Regions from separate parts of the Homo sapiens genome. Here regions 1 and 2 are each linked to region 3. Evidence: promoter capture Hi-C in human tissues and cell types (Jung and others, 2019). All regions are on one chromosome and are shown on one strand. Each heading gives the region's core, a stretch centred on a gene start or on the middle of the fragment in contact. The rest is flanking DNA. Distances are from core to core; before and after follow the strand shown. Region 1 overlaps COX7B2 (cytochrome c oxidase subunit 7B2). Region 2 overlaps GABRA4 (gamma-aminobutyric acid type A receptor subunit alpha4). Region 3 holds the start of COX7B2 (cytochrome c oxidase subunit 7B2).

The links. Contacts are between HindIII fragments. The study calls those that stand out against the background at their distance.
Region 1: a contact is called between a fragment that was not itself captured here and the fragment with the promoter of COX7B2 in region 3, in 2 of the 25 tissues and cell types used here (aorta and spleen).
Region 2: a contact is called between a fragment that was not itself captured here and the fragment with the promoter of COX7B2 in region 3, in 1 of the 25 tissues and cell types used here (stomach).

Annotation. Positions count from the first base shown.
Region 1 is chr4:46,862,360-46,866,395 of GRCh38, forward strand. All of the region lies in intron 1 of COX7B2 (cytochrome c oxidase subunit 7B2), which reads right to left. Among named protein-coding and RNA genes, the nearest start is that of COX7B2, 45 kb to the right of the region's middle. The HindIII fragment of the contact is 4,587 bases long and covers 1-4,036 here.
Region 2 is chr4:46,960,641-46,964,548 of GRCh38, forward strand. All of the region lies in intron 8 of GABRA4 (gamma-aminobutyric acid type A receptor subunit alpha4), which reads right to left. Among named protein-coding and RNA genes, the nearest start is that of GABRA4, 31 kb to the right of the region's middle. The HindIII fragment of the contact is 8,926 bases long and covers 1-3,908 here.
Region 3 is chr4:46,907,562-46,911,112 of GRCh38, forward strand. It overlaps COX7B2 (cytochrome c oxidase subunit 7B2), which reads right to left and starts at 1,684. Exons shown (of 3, transcript NM_130902.3): 1 at 1,599-1,684. The HindIII fragment of the contact is 11,120 bases long and covers 1-3,551 here.

The DNA.
Region 1 (4,036 bases), core at 1,025-3,524, 45 kb before region 3:
CTATCTTATGACTAGAATTCTGAGGTAAAAGCAAATGGGTAAGTGTTCCGTCTTTCTGTGTGTATACACATATTTAGATATGTTTATGTATGTACATGTGTTATGTGTTGTGTCTAGCATGCTATCAAATTAGCGCAAATGAATATTCATAAATTAAGTCCAAATGCTTTTCAAAGTCATGTGAATCTTTGGTAAATAAAACTGGGTTTAAAATTATGGATAAAAATAGAAATGTCTTCCGAATTTTCAAATTTTGATAAATAAGACTAATTTAAGATTGTTGGTTCAATAAAAACACCTGAATCTTTGGGGTTATCAGCAAAATGTTCATGTATTCAACTGTAAGATTCTTATTAGGTGTTCACCTAATGTTCAGACTTTAAAAATGTTTAATCAGGAAGTAACTTTGAATGATGACTAGATTTGCCTAGTAGCACAACTTTTATAAGTAATCTTGCTAAACTATTAAAAAGAAATAAATTAGGTAAGTGTAATGAGATAAATGCTTGTAAGTGAACTTTTTGTATAGCTTAAAATCTTAAAATTATTTTGGATGTTTACTGGACGTATGGGTCATTTCCAATTAAGAAAGAGTTATTATAATATATGGGAAGATAAGTTTCTAAAAATTATGAAATTGTTCTCATCTTTAAAATGCTAACATCTGGTAAAGAGTTCAGGATTTCTTGCTTCGTAGGTTTATATAATATGTGCCAAAGAATATGCCTTTTTATCGAGAAAAAGAATAACTTTGTCTAATTCAAAAGCTATGTAAAGGTTAATTCAAATTATCAACTTGAAAAGGTTATTTATGAAATGAGATAGAAAGGAACTGATAAGGAGGGAGAAATGTAAATAAAGTTATAGATATACATATGTATTTTTGGTAAGGAAGGATATTAACAAAAAGACTAATTTTATACAAGACAGGGTCTTGTATGCTGAATTCTTGTCCTAGAGAACAACTGGTTATTTAAGAAAGAGATAGTACAGGACAAGTCGGAAAGTACAAGCATGTGATAGTCTGTGTAAGTCATGATAAAGTTTGTAAAAGAAAATTCATGAAGGAATTTTGTGTGTAATTAAGTGGCTGTCATTAGAAGGGAATTGTTTATAATTGTCTTTCTAGAGAATAGTCGCCCATGTTAAAGCAAGATCTTCTTAAGATATTGATTTGCTCTTAATAAAATTACAAGAAATTTTTATTTTAATTCCATAACCTGTTCCTTTTAAAACTTCTCAGATTCATATCTCATATTCAACTATTGTTGTGCCTTGCTGCTTTCAATTCTTTCTCCCTTTGAGAAGGCCTAATACGATAATGCTCCAGCTTTTTCATAGCTCCTGTGACCTTTTCTCCTCTGGTTTTAACTCTTCATATTGACTGATGCTGAAATATTTTATCTTAGAGGTCTATAAAAGCAATGTTTTCCTCCAGGATAACTTGATTTTATACTCTTTGCTGTTCTTGAAACTTTATATTTGACCTTTGTTTTTTAATTCTTAGATTGCTTAAAAAAAGTTTTAAGGGCTAATGAGTGTTGAGCAACCTCCATTCTCACCTGGACTAAAATGTTTAATTGGCTATCGAAATCTGAAAAACTAATTCAGGTCATGATGGGAAACAGGGGCCGGACATGCCTCACTATGCCCGCTATTTGGAATTTAGGTCACGTTCAAAAGGCCCTTCAAGAATATGGAAATAAAGCACTGCCCTTTCCAACAAGGGAAATAATTAACTCCCCCATTCAACCAAGAGACTTAGTCTTACTGAAAATTTGGAAAGAAGGATCCCCCAAGGATGAATTTCAACCAAAATGGAAGGGCCCCTATCAGGTGTTGTTAAGTATCCCCACTGCCATTAAGCTTCAGGGGATCACCAGCTGAGTACACCTATCCAGGATTAAACCTGTTTCTTATGAGCCCCCCAGGTTTCAGATACAAACAATGTTACCTACACTTGTGAGTCTCTGAAGGCCACCCACGACATTTTTTTTTTTAACTAAAGGGAAGTTAGCTTTATTGGAGAAGCCAACAACTGAAGGGAGGCAGTGAAGTAGCATTCAAAAACCACCTCTCCAAGTTGTGCCTCTGGATCAGGAGTTTTTAAGAGAAGTTAAGAGAAATCATCAAAATATTTTTTTGTGAAATGATCGTGTGCTGTCTCAGGTGGGCAGTTAATCATTGCGTTCTTGGTCAATGTTTTGTGGTCTTCTGCAGGCACCATCAGCCTATTCTTATCAGGCCAGTCAGCCCATTCCTAGAGTTGTTGGTCAGAGTTGTTTTTTGTTTGTTTGTTTGTTTGTTTGTTTAGACGGAGTCTCGCCCAGGCTGGAGTGCAGTGGCGCGATCTAGGCTCACTGCAAGCTCCACCTCCCGGGTTCACGCCATTCTCCTGCCTCAGCCTCCTGAGTAGCTGGGACTACAGGCGCCGGCCACCACGCCCGGCTAATTTTTTGTATTTTTAATAGAGACGGTTTTTCACCGTGTTAGCCAGGATGGTCTCCATCTCCTGACCTCGTGATCAGCCCGCCTCAGCCTCCCAAAGTGCTGGGGTTACAGGCGTAAGGCACCGCACCTGGGCTTTTATTATGATTATTATTATGATTATTTCAATAGCTTTGGGGATACATGTGTTTTTTGTTACATGGATGAATTAAATAGCAGTGAATTCTGAGATTTTAGGGCACCCATCACCTGAGTAGTATACAGTATGCCTGTGTAGTTTTTTAATCTCTAGCACCTCTTCTACTCTCCCCCTTCTGAGTATTATATTAATACCACTCTGTATGTCTTTGGGTACTCATAGTTTAGCTCTCACTTATCAGTGAGAACATATATTTTTTGGTTTTCCACTCCTGTGTTACTTCACTTAGAATAATGGCCTTCAGCTCCATCCAACATGCTGTAGAAGACATTATTTTGTTCCTTTTAATGGCTGAGTAGTAAGTAGTCCATGGTTGTGTATGTACCATATTTTCTTTAGCCACTCATTAGTTGGTGGCACTTAGGTTGGTTCCACATCTTTGTAACTGTGTATTGTGTTGTGATAAGCATATATGTGCAAGTATCTTTTTCATATAACAACCTCTTCTCCTTTGGTCCATTACCTTTGTAAAAGGACCAACGCTCAATTTGGTACAGAGATGTGGTGCTGTGGTAAGAATAGGAGTATCAATTTTTCTCTTCTTCTTGATCATAATACTCTTTCTCTACCGCTTTGAACAACTGCTTCCTCCTAGGAAACACATCTTTTGTCCTTGTTGGGTGTAGAGGCCACTCTAAGGTCCACCCAGACATCATGCTGCCTCTGATAATCCTGTTTGCTCCCCCAGTTAACCTAATTCAGTGTGGGTGGGAGAAAACTCTATAGTAAATATTTCAAAAAAGTATAGCATCAAGGAATCATCTTCTTGGTTGCCGACTCTGTCATCAACATCCCCAGGATAGAGAGTTCCACGTCCTGGCACATCTGGAAAATCTCACGACCATGTCTCTGGACCTCGTAATTAACCACCATGATCCCTTAGTACACAGAACCCTACTTGTTAGGTGGAATTCTCCCCCACTTAACAGATTCTACCTAACTTCCTCCACCACTGTTATCTGGACCTGGGAGATTGGGTACTAGTACCTCCAGTGATCTAATGACACTATCTTTTGCATCCATTGCTGTGTTAATGACACAAGAGTGGAAGTTTCCCCACAATGCTCTGTTCCAACCCTAGTTTCCAAGTCCCAAGGCTGCACTAAAATAAATGGGATCCAACTTCTAAGTAAGGAAGCCGTACATGATGCCATGTCCAAGGCCAATACATGCAAAGAAAAAGCAACTGCCTGATTTAGGAAGACGGAAGTATCCCCCCTTCTGGAAAATAGGAGCTGTCTGACCACTGCCATTGGAATTTGGGGAAAATACCTCTATAGATCCACCTTGGCAGCAGAGAACAGATGTTACACCACATATGGCCTCTATTTGTGCCCTAACTGGGCTCACTTTTGTCTGTGGTTGATTGGAAAGAAATCCGACCCTGCA
Region 2 (3,908 bases), core at 667-3,166, 53 kb after region 3:
AAGTAGCAACATAATTATAGAATATTTAGCAAATAATTATAATAATATTACATATCTAAAGGTATGAATTATGGCCAAAGTTGTTTGCAAAGGAAATCTTATTGCAATAAGAAAAATTTATTATTTAAATAAAACATAGTGAAAATAAACTAATAAGAGGCAAACTCAAGGAGCTAGAAAAGGAGTAACAAAACTAACTTGCAGAAAGATGGAATTCAAATACAATCATGACTCAATAATTAGAAAATAGAAACAATGAAATAAATAAATAAATTCAAGACTCAAGTTTTTGAAAGTTTCCATGACAAGAATCTTCTATCATGGCTTCAATACAACAAGGCAAAGCAAAATAAAACAACAAGCACAGAGGGTATAAATTTACCTATGGGGAATGGGAAAGAAAATAAAACTGCATACTCAATCACTACTTTCTAAACTAATAAATAGTATGTAAAATTCATTCTGATGATTTTCAAAATCGTGATGAAATTGATTCATTTAAAGGAAAATATAAACTATCTAAACTTACTTAGTGGAAAGATATTAATTTTTCACCTGCACACACGCCATTCTTAAAGGGCCCAGTGCCCTGTAGGAGCAGAGCTATAAATTGCAGGACCCTGACCAGTTAATCCCTGCCAGGGTGAATGCCTAACCTAATTTCTTCAGCTGGCATCTCTCTGAGAACAGAATCCCATCCTCCTCATCCTCCTCCCGCACTTCCTGTCCCCTTTAGTGCTTTACTATTATCATAGCCCTATCACTATCTAACACATCACCTGTTTTGTTATTTATGTTTTTCAGTATTGTCTGCCTCCTCTCCCTTGCCCCACACAAGTAAATGTAAGCTCCACCTGGCAGGATATTTGTTTTTTGGTACACTATCGGCTCACAGATTCTAAACAGGAAATCGGGCACAAAGTTGGCACAAATGTATATTTGTTGAATGAGTGAATAAATCAATTAATGAATGAATAAGGGACCGATCTGTTATCTATAGAGAAATAAAGTTGATGATTTATATACGTGTTGATTTGGGTATATGCAAACAAAGGGAGTCTTAGACTACCATATGTGGCAAATACCATAGACTGTATTTAAGTGACCACAGGCATTTGTCTGCTGGTTCAAAAAAGAAGCTGAGTAGAGTGATAGTGAGAGAGAAAGAGAGAGAAGGAGATAGGTGAGTAGTGGAGGAAGAAGAAGAGGAAGAAGAGGAAAGAGAGTGAGAGGGGCGCTGCTTGTTTGCTTCTATGTTTTTATGAGGATCTGACTATTTTTGTACAGTTGGACTCCATGAAGAAAAAGATACTTTTTAATTGTTTGTTTGTTTTAAATCACAGACTCACTGATGTGTCAAATGTAAAATACAATAGCTTTTATTGGGCTTTCCACATTGTCTTAGATCTATCCCTTCAGGTCGAGAATTCCTAATTTTGACTGTACATTTACTACAACTATCTAACTTCTTGCTTATTGGTTTTGTTTTCTTCTTTAATACACAGGCACAGGCCCCACCCTGCCCCATGGGGTAGTTCTAATGTGTGGCCATGTTAAGAGCTGCTGCTTTAAAGACTCCACAAGAAAACTATTAGAACGGATAAGCAAATTCAGTAAAGTTGCAGGATACAAAATTAATATACAAAAATCAGTAGCATTTTTGTATGTCAATAGTTAACAATCTGAAAAAGGAACAAAAAAGTAATCCTATTTACAATAGCCACATATAAAATTAAATACCTAGGAATTAACTTTACCAAAGAAATGAAAGATATCTATAATGAAAATTAGAAAACACTGATGAAATAAATTGAACAGGACACCAAAAAATGGAAAAAGATTTTATGTTCATGGATTGGAAGAATCAATATTAATAAAATTTCCATACCACCAAAAGCAATCTACAGGTTCAGTGCAATCACTATCAAAATACCAAAGATATTCTTCACAGAAATAGCAAAAACAATCCTAAAATGTATATGGAACCACAAAAGACCCAGAATAGCCAAAGATATCCTAAGCACAAAGAATGAAACTGGAGGAATCACATTACCTCATTTCAAATTATACTACAAATCTGTAATAATCAAAACAACATGGTACTGGCATAAAAACAGACACATAGATCAATGAAACAGAATAGAGAACCCAGAAACAAATCCACACACCTAAGCAAACCCATTTTCAACACAGGTGCCAAGAATATACAGCTGGAAAAAGACGGTCCCTTCAATAAATGGTGCTGGGAAAACTGTATTATTCATACGCAGAAGAATGAAAATAGACCCCTATCTCTGCCATATACAAGAATCAAATCAAAATGAATTAAGACCACCTCAAACCATTGAGCTATTACAAGAAAACATTGAGGGAAATCTCTTGGACATTGGTCTGGGCAAAAATTTCTTGAGTAATACCTTAGAAGCATGGCAACCAAAACCACAATGGACAGAAGGGATCACATCAAGTTAAAAAGCTTCTGCACAGCCAAGTATACAATCAACAAAGTGAAGTGACAACTCATAGATTGGGAGAAAATATCTGCAAACTATTCATCTGACAAAGGATTAAGAATCAGAATATATAAAGAGGTCAAACAACTGAATAGGAAAAAATCTGATAATCCAATCAAAAATGGGCAAAAATTTGAATAGATAATAAGATCTGGCTGTGTTCTCAGCCAAATCTCAACTTGAATTTTATCCCCCAGAATTCCCACTTGTTGTAGGAGGGACCCAGGGGGAAGTAATTGAATCATGGGGGACAGTCTTTCCTGTGCTATTCTTGTGATAGTGCATAAGTCTCACCAGATCTGATGGGCTTATCAGGGGTTTCTGCTTTTGCTTCTTCCTCATTTTTCTCTTACCATCACCATGTAAGAAGTGCCTTCCACCTCCCACCATGATTCTGAGGCCTCCCCAGCCATATGAGACTGTAAGTCCAAGTAAACCTCTTTTTGTTCCCAGTTTCAGGTATGTCATGATCAGCAGTGTGAAAATGGACTAATACAGCAGACATTTCTCAAAAGAAGACATGGAAATTGTAAACAGATATAGGTAAAGGTGCTCAACATCACTGATCATCAGAGAAATGCAAATCAAAACTACAATGACGCATCATCTCACCCCAGGTAAAATAGCTTATATCCAAAAGGCAGGCAATAGCAAACACTGGAGATAAATTAGTACAACCACTATGGAGAACAGTTGGAGAGTCCTCAAAAAACTAAAAATAAAGCTACCATATGATTCAGCAATTCCACTACTGGGTGTATACCCAAAAGAAAGGAAATCAGTATATCAGAGAGATATCTGCACTCCTATGTTTGTTTCAGATCTGTCTACAATAGCTAAGATTTGGAAGCAACCTAAGTGTCTATAAACTGATAAATGATTAGAGAAAATGTGGTACATATATACAGTGAATGACTATTCAGCCATAAAAAAGAATGAGATCCAGTCATTTGCTACAACATGGATGGAAATGGAGATCATCAAGTTAAGTGACATAATCCAGGCACAGAAAGATAAACCTTGCATGTTCTCACTTATTTGTGGGATCTAAAAATCAAAACAATTGAACTCATGAACATAGAGGGTAAAATGATGGTTACCAGAGACTGGGAAGGGTAGCGGGAGTTTGGTGGAGGGAAGATGGGGATGATTAATGGGTACAAAGTAATAGAATGAATAAGACCTACTATTTGATAGCACAACAGAGCAACTATAGCCAATAATAACTTAATTTTACATTTTGAAATAACTTAAAGAATGTACTTGGACTGTTTGTAACTCAAATAATAAATACTTGAAGAAATGGCTACCCCATTTTCCATGATGTGCTTATTTCACATTGCATGCCTGTATCAAAGCATCTCATGTACTTCATAAATATATGCATCTATTATG
Region 3 (3,551 bases), core at 434-2,933:
CAAGAAGGGTTCCCATTGCTTTTTAATTTAATATCCAACTCCGTAATTTGATATCCATATGCACCTCCTATGGGTGGAGTCACAGTGTGAATCTCAAAGATCAAAAGTTATGACCAGAGTACACAGAATTGTTAAATTCAAAGCCACTGTGAGATAAAAAAAAAAATAGGAACAACTATTAAATCGATGGCCAAGTCAGATAACTCCAAGACTTGTCACACCAAACTTCCATCTCTTGTCTCTGAAGAGGAGTCAAAACAATATAAAAGATCAGAATTTGAGCAGACTTTTTTTTTTTTTTTTTTTTTTTTGAGACGGAGTCTCTCTCTGTTTCCAGGCTGGAGTGAAATGAGACGATCTCAGCTCACTGCAACCTCCGCCTCCCGGGTTCAAGCGATTCTCCCGGCTCAGCCTCCCTAGTAGCTGGGACTACAGGCGCGTGCGACCACGCCTGGCTAATTTTTGTATTTTTAGTAGAGATGCGTTTCACCCTGTTGGCCAGGATGGTCTCGATCTCTTGATCTCGTGATCCTCCCGCCTCGGCCTCCCAAACTGCTGGGATTACAGGTGTCAGCCACTGCACCCAGCCAGAATTTGAGCAGACTATCTATGCCCCCTATGTAGGCCTGGCACTAAACATTTCCTGCAAATACCACTGGCCATCCTAGAACCACTTTGAGATCTGTAAGGCTCGTACACAAAAAGACTATAATCATACCCTTCTCTCAGTCAAGGCTACTTAGAAAAAACTGCCTCTACAGATTTCAAAGCCAAGCAGCAATAATCACGTGACCAACACCCGTTTAATAGGGATGCCTCAACACTCCTGGTCAGATTTTGTTTGCTGAGTCCCTCAAAGCTTATTGGCTTTTGCTCACAGCCCAAGGTATGCAAACCTGCTTATATACAAACAGCTACTCTCCTGTGGGCAAAATTGCCACTACAGCTGAACATATATGATCGGTACCTAGACCAGTTCTGCCAGAGTGCAACACTTCCCACTTTAGCCATGCCAGAAGATACAACTACACAAATCGCTCTGCAACATGCAATTCCTTTCCTTTTAATTTTCCTTTTACTCCCATCCTATGTCCTAGATGTCAGAGTGAGAGGAAGGTCCAAAATATAACGTCTTTCCATTCCCTCTGGGAGAAATGAAACAAAAAAGGAAAGTGGCAAAAAAAAAAAAAAAAAATCTGGCCGGGCGCAGTGGCTCACGCCTGTAATCCCAACACTTTGGGAGGCCGAGGCGGGTGGATCACGAGGTCAGGAGATCGAGACCATCCTGGCTAACATGGTGAAACCCCGTCTCTACTAAAAATACAAAAAAAAATTAGCCAGGCGTGGTGGCGGGCCCCTGTAGTCCCAGCTACTCGGGAGGCTGAGGCAGGAGAATGGCGTGAACCCGGGAGGCGGAGCTTGCAGTGAGCCGAGATGGCGTCACTGCACTCCAGCCTGGGGTGACAGAGTGAGACTCCGTCTCAAAAAAAAAAAAAAATTTCAAAATATTTCCTGATAACTGTTAGAGCAATGAATGAAGACCATGTCTTATAACTGTCAGCTTACTGACAACGAACCCCAGAATGAGACAAACTTACCAAGGACGTCACAGGTAACAGGCAAAAAAAGACGGCGCAGAGGCAAATTCCGAACCTTTCCGTTTTACAGCCTGGAGGGGTCGGGTAAAACAGGTACTTCCTGTGAGCAGTTTCCGCCTTAGGTGAAAGGAAGAGGCGGTCACATGAAGGACTGCGCGTTCCAAACTGACCAATCAGATAGATGATTGCTATCTCCACGGGAGGAACTAAAAAGACAGCCATTAGGAGAGTTCTTCTAATATAAGTCCCTCTGTAATGAATCAAACAAAAGAATTGAGATGGGTGTTCCTACCTACCAACATAATTCCTAGTGACACCTGTTGGGATCTTTTCCTTCCATGTCGCAGCTATCTCTTGGCAAGCCCCCTGGCTCCGTGTTACTTCTTTATCCCACTTGGTGATTAGGAAAGTTTGAGATTGCCTGTAACCCAAAGCAAGTCATAAATCCCGTGTAGCCCATCTGATCTCTCCTAAGCATACTAGGATGCTAATTATGATGACCACATAATATTTTGCCCAAACTGAGACCCTTGAGAGTGAAAGAGGGCAATGTAATTAATTAAAATTATACGTTTTCTTATTTTTTGAGATTTTGAGACTTTATATTGGTGGGCCAATAAAGTGCAATTCAAAATTCATTTTGGAAAGGAAATTAGTTCTAAAAATTAAAATGATATAATTACATATTAAAGCTAAAACTTTTTGTAAAGTCTGTATTGATAATATGAACATAATAAAATGGCACTTTGGGAGGCCAAGGCAGGTGGATCACCTGAGGTCAGCAGTTTGAGATCAGCCTGGCCAACGTGGTGAAACCCTGTCTCTACTAAAAATACAAAAATTAGCTGGGCGTGGGGTCGGATGCCTGTAATCCCAACTACTTCTGGAGGCTGAGGCAGGACAATGGCTTGAATCACAGTGGCGGAGGTTGCAGTGAGCCGAGATCGAGCCGTTGCACTCCAGCTGGGCAACAAGAGTGAAACTCCATCTCAAAATATATATATGTATAATAAAATGATCATTCTTGCTGTATGCTGATGTATTTTAATTAGTGTTTTGGTCTATAAGACTGGGTCACTGATATTTTCTAAAGAATATATTTTAATATGGTATTATTACTTGTCAACTTTTTAAATCGCCTATACTCTTCTAAAACATGTACTTTATGGGTGATATATGTCAAATTGTTGACATCTTCACTTAACTGTTCACCATGTATTATAGTATTTTAAATTGAGAAAATAAGCTCATAGAAATTCTGCTAAACAGAAAATACCCTTTCTATTTTTTTCATTTTGAAATATGTAATTTTTTCAGTCCAAATATTTTCGCAAGTACCTTCTTCTGGCCTGTAAGGTAACCTATCTTCAGCACATATTTGTATGAGACAAATTTCATTAATTTTGTTGTTATTTATATTCTTTTGAGGTTTTTTTGTTTTTTTGTTTTTGATGGAGTCTTGTTCTGTCTCCCAGGCTGGAGTGCAGTGGCACCCTCTTGGCTCACTGCAACCTCTGCCTTCCCGGGTTCACGCGATTCTCCTGCCTCAGCCTCCTGAGTAGATGGGATTACAGGTGCACACCACCACACCCAGCTAATTTTTTGTGTATTTTTAATAAAGACAGGGTTTCACTATGTTGGCCAGACTGGTCTCGAACTCCTGACCTCGTGATCCGCCCACCTCGGCCTCCCAAAGTGCTGGGATTACAGGCATGAGCCACGGCGCCCGGCCTCTTTTGAAGGTTTAACAAATTTAGATCCTGCAAATTGGAAAGCCTTTTAAATTTTATGTCTCTAAAAATGTGAATTTATACTACTTATAGTAGAAATCCCATGAAAAAAATTATATAAATTTAAAATATTCCAAAGCACAATTATAGAATGTGAAAGTTAAATATTATATAAGATTTAAGATCCAATTAAATTTGTTCATATTATCCCTTGGTTTTGAAT